Linked DNA regions of Homo sapiens: region 2 is linked to region 1. Evidence: promoter capture Hi-C in 16 types of primary human blood cells and fetal thymus (Javierre and others, 2016). All regions are on one chromosome and are shown on one strand. The core of a region is centred on a gene start or on the middle of the fragment in contact, and the rest is flanking DNA. Distances in the headings are between cores, read along the strand shown.

Region 1 (2,700 bases), core at 182-2,681:
TGGATGGATGGATGGATGGATGGATGGATGGATGGATAGGGATTTTGGAGGAAGAGGAGTGAGCAGTCACTGAAAAGAATAGAAAAATAATGAGGCTTGCTCCCTCTCCCTAGTCAGAAGAGCCAGTAAGCAGCTTAGAGCTTTAATCCCACAAATTGTCAGGCAGCTGGCGCAAGAACAGGGAAAAAGAGAGAGAGAGAGAGAGAGAGACCCTGTCTGTGGTAGGTTATGGTCATCAGTGAAAAAGAACAAAAACCTTTGTTTTAAAACTCTCCTCAAAACAGATGATTGGCTAGAGGGTGCGGCACAAAGGAACTTGTCAGGGTGATGGAGACATTCTGTATCTGGATTGAGCAATGCAAGAACCTGGGTAAAGACACAGTCATGGTAACAGCTGTATACATCTGTTGAAAACTCATCAAACTTATCATATTTAGAAAGGGTACATTTTGCTTCATGTAAAGTATGCCTCAATAAAGTGTACTTGATTTTAAAATCAGGATAAAGGAAAAAAACATTGATCTTGGATAATGGGCAGGGGTTGGGGAGAAGGTCTTAATTATCATCATATCCTTTTAAAAACGTTTTTCAAGTGTGTGATGCTCTGATGACATTCTTAAGACACAGCAAGGCAAAGCAGTATCCCAAATGAGAGAGTGAGCATTCCAATAAATATTTTCTGTAAGACACTGATATGTCTATGACTATTTGCTAAATTTAAAAATCAACTTGGACCATATTTACTCCCTTAAAGTCTAATAGACGACTAATTTCTTCTATGTTCAGAACAAATATGTTGCTACTTTAAGAACAGCATACATAGGTGTGGTCGGCCCTCTGTGTCTAAGGCTTCTGCATCTGTGGATTCAACCAACAATGGACTGAAAATATTCCAAAAATAAAATAAAATTAATGAAACAACAACAAAAATAAAACAAATAAAAAAATGCCAGGTAACAACTACTTACAAAGCATTTACATAGTATTAGGTGTTAGAAGTAATCAAGAGATGATTTAAATCACCATCTATGATTGGCTGATATGCATAGGTTATATGCAAATACTATGCCACTATATATAAAGGACTTGAACATTCGCAAATTTTGGTATCTGCAGGGGATTCTGGAACCAAACCCCATGGATACCAAGAGACAACTATATATAAAATACTGAAAGAGGCATGGAGAGTGATTTTCAGGCCTCTACCTAAAGCCCTGAATATTAGAAATTACTGAATTTCTTCTCAGGAAGGAAATTACGCCATAAACCAGTGTTGCCACACACCCAGAGAACAAGATGACCCGACGCCCCAGCCTGGTCATGCCACATGAGCTGAGCAGTGGGTAGGCCACTGAGCCAGTGATAGAAATCACAAATTACAAAACGTCAGAGTACTTTCTGGAAATAAGCCTTCCTCTCCAGGGAACAACGCATTTGACACTTGACTGGGATACACTACCGGATCCTCCGAGGGTGATGGTTCTCAAGAAGGCAGAAGCAATGGTGACCAATAGACCTCCTTAAAGGCTGAGCCGCTGGGCACCTTCCTACTCCTCTCGACCGTGCTAGGATGACTGCAGCAGAGTCCCCGAGTCCTTTGATGCAAGGGTCTAGGTGAGTTCGAAGGAGAGCCATACTAGGCCAGGCAGAAAGGCCCATGGTGATGGCTGTCCACCCTGGTCAGGGGAATTCTAGGTTCAGGCCATGCGGCAAGGTCACCTTGAGGGACATGCTTTGCTCTAAGCTCAGCTTAAGTGTGTCTGAACCCCCCTCACTTCTTCCAACTGCAGAAGCACATGGAGAAGGGGGAGAAAGGGTTGCCCACCTCCTAAAATGAGGGCAGCGTGGTGAAGAGCCCCATCATGCCCCACCAAGGTCCTGTGTGCAGGGCAGGGCAGTGCCTATCCAGAAGGCCAGACCTCTAACTGCTGCTCTGTAGGACGTCCGGGCCTCACATGCAGGCTCCTATAAGCTGGCTGTCTTGGCAAGAGGGCCCTGGTACAGCACTGTGTTCATCACAGAAAACCACACCGTACATAATTTGTAACAGACAGAAATGCATTTGGCTCATGGTTCTGGAGACTGGGAACCCAGGATGGAGGGGCCACATCTGGCAAGGGCCTTCTTGCCATGACATGGTGGAAGGTATCACAAGGTTGGGGAAGGAGGGGTGGGCGGGGCGGGAAGAGAGAGAGAGAGAACAAGAGAGAGAGAATCCATTCATAAGGGTGGAGCCCTCATGACTAAACACCTCCCATTAGGTCCCACCTCCCAACACTGTTGCTTTGGGGATTAAGTTTCCAGCTGGCTTTTTTCAAACCTTAGCAACCACCAAACAGACAAGCCCTTCGGCCTGTCCTGGAGGGCGTTGAATGGCATGGCCTGGAGCTCAACCAGGAGAACCGTGCTCAGGAGGAAGAGACCAGAAGGATAACTCAAAAAGTTCTGAGAAGTTCCTAAGACCACCTGAAGAGAAGGAGCCTGCTGCCAATGGTGTGGACACCGCAGTGTGCTTGAGGAGACTTCAGAAACGAGAACTGGTAGGAGAAGGGGGTTGCACAGACCCTTTCCTCAGTTAGGCACCCTCTGCTCCCACCCTCATGCCCACCCTGACATCAGGCTAAGGGAGAGGCGCTCATCCATTGACAGGTGCCAGGCTGTCCTGGGCCTGGCAAACCCTGGCCTTGTACACCCACTCTC
Region 2 (2,700 bases), core at 141-2,640, 110 kb before region 1:
TTTGTGTTTATTTCTCTATTCTTATACTTTAAAAATTCCTATTTCTCTTTATGTTTTATAACGTGCATTACATATATTTTGGATAGAGTGGAGGAGACAGATAAGTCATAAATACTTGTGTTTTTATTGCACATCATATAATATACACAATTTAATAATACATTGTAACATATCTTATCTGCCTATATTGCTATATTCATGTATGATGTATGAACATATATTCATATACCATCTAGTACATATTAGATACTATAGATTATAATTATGTTGCAGCATGTGTCATATTATACATAAGACATATAAATATATTTGCTTATATCTACTAACATATGTATATATCGTAATTGCATGTAAACATTAATATATATACATATATTTGCATGTTGTATACATATTTGATACTCATATGACATTGATACTCATATGACATTGGTGTGCATATATAATCCTCCTATATTTTTCTAGTCCATTTGTTCTCCCACATTCCTAGAAGATCACTTCACATTTTCTTCTCTTGCCTTCAACACTCAATGCCACCTTCCTCATCCTCACACTCAGACTCCTCTTTTACTGAGAAGATGGAGATGAACACAAGTGGCTTTCACCAGCCCTGCCCCAATATTTCATCGTCCCATGCACTGATGCCCAGGGTATCCGTGGTACATGCTGCTTTCCTTCAGTGTCGATGGACAGATTTGCTTTGCCACCTGGGACCCGCCTCTCTGTTCATGTACCAGGTGCTCTCTCTTTCCCATAGAGATGGCTGCAGAAATTCTCTCCCCCTCCCAGCCCCGGTCATCAAGCTTTCCTCTCTCCTGGATCATCCCAACCTGCAGACAGGCCTGGGGTGGCTTCTCCCATCTTCAACCAAACGAAACCCTCCCCTCACTCCCACTTCCTCTTCCATGTACTATTTCACTTCTCAGTTCTCCTCACAGCACAACTTCTTGAGAGAGTTGCTTACACTCATTATCTTCCATTTTTCTGCTCCCAATTGGGCTTTTACTTCTAAATAATTCTCCAAAATTTATCTTGCCAAGGTCAAAAAGGACTGCCAAACTTGGAAATCCAAACTCAGTTCCCTGTCCCCACAAAGCTGACCTCTCAGCAGCGCTAGTCACAGAGGGCTCTTCCCAAGCTGACTTTCAGCAGCGCTGGTTCCCTCCTCTGGGAAGCCCTTTCTGTTGTTGGCTTCCAGAATACCCCACCTGCCTGGTGGCTCTTGAGCCTCTCTGACCCCCCTTCTCAGGCACCACTGCTGGCTGGTGTCTGAGTGTCACTGTGCCCCTGGTCCAGACCCCAGACTCTCTTGTCAACAGCTACACTCACTCCCTAGGGGATCTCAGTGGCCCAGTGGCTTTAGATGCCATCTAGAGCCCTGTCCCCCCACTGTCACCTCTAAGGGGTCTCTCAATCCTGAATTGCTCCAAAGTAAGCTAAGGATAGCTGTTCCCCAACCTGTCCCTCTCACAGTCTACCTTATCCAGGTTAGAGGCAGCTTCTTCCTGTAGCCTTGGAGTCAGTCTTGATGCCTCCTTTTCTCTAAATATGGCAGATAGGCCGGGCACGGTGGCTCACGCCTGTAATCCCAGCACTTTGGGAGGCTGAGGCAGATGGATCTCCGGAGGTCAGGAGTTCAAGACCAGCCTGGCCAACATGGCGAAACCCCGTCTCTACTAAAAGTACAAATAAAAAATTAGCTGGGCATGGTGGTGTGCGCCTGCAATTCCAGATACTTGGGAGGCTAAAGCAGAAGAATTGCTTGAATCTGGGAGGCGGAGGTTGTAGTGAGCAGAGATCATGCCACTGCACTCCAGACTGGGCAACAGAGAGAGACTCTGTCTCAGAAAGAAAAAAAAAATAGCGATTCTCCTCAGAGCCCACAGAAGGAACACAGTTCTGCTGACCCCGTTTCCCCATTTTAGACTTATGCCCCCCAGAACCATACATTTGTATTGTTTTAGCCACTAAGCTTATGGTAATTTATTATCGCATCCATAAGGAACTAATACCCTGAGGAAATCCTGTTGTCTGAGCCTTCAAAATATAGAAAGAATCTTACCATTTTCTTACCACTTTGGGTCTTCCATCCAGACCCAAGTTCCCACCTTTTCCCACTGGGATGATGGCAACAGCCTCCTGAGAGGTCTCTGGTTTCCACACTTGTCCCCACACAGTGTTCTGTGCACACAGCTCCCAAGTGAGTCCTCCTAGTAGTTGTAAGAAAGATCAGGTTAGCTACTTTCTGCTCAAGCCTCCACCAGCTCCCTGTCTCAATGAGGATGAAACCCAAACTCCTTCCTGTGACCTACAAAGTTCTATATGATCTGACCCTATCACTTTTCTGAACTTTACACTACTCACCCCCTTGATCACTCACCCAGCCCCAGAAGAAACCTATCACAGCCTTTGCAGTGTTGCTTCAACAAGATGAGCAGCTGCTGCCCCCAGGACTTTGCACTTTCTCCTCTGCCTGGAGTGCTGTTTTCCAGAAGTAGCCATGGCATTCTCCCCCTTCTTCAGTCTTCCCTGGTTGCTAGAGCTGAAATCCTCCCTCCTCCCTATTTCCAGTTCCTTTTCTTTGCTTTATTTTTTTGTTCCTTTGTACTTCACCATGCATATCATCAACATCTACATGTTGTATTTACTTATTTTATGTATTGTCCATCTCTCTCCTTCCCTCCACTACCACCACTAGGA

The links. The method cuts DNA at HindIII sites, captures the fragments that hold promoters and counts their contacts. A CHiCAGO score of 5 or more calls a contact.
Region 2: a contact is called between a fragment that was not itself captured here and the fragment with the promoter of KCNE1 in region 1, in 1 of 17 cell types (neutrophils). The highest score is 5.3, in neutrophils.

The regions. Positions count from the first base shown.
Region 1 is chr21:34,510,941-34,513,640 of GRCh38, reverse strand. It overlaps KCNE1 (potassium voltage-gated channel subfamily E regulatory subunit 1), which reads left to right and starts at 1,431. Exons shown (of 4, transcript NM_000219.6): 1 at 1,431-1,614; 2 at 2,326-2,540. The HindIII fragment of the contact is 14,180 bases long and covers 1-2,700 here.
Region 2 is chr21:34,621,881-34,624,580 of GRCh38, reverse strand. No RefSeq gene overlaps it. Among named protein-coding and RNA genes, the nearest start is that of RCAN1, 8.1 kb to the right of the region's middle. The HindIII fragment of the contact is 1,169 bases long and covers 806-1,974 here.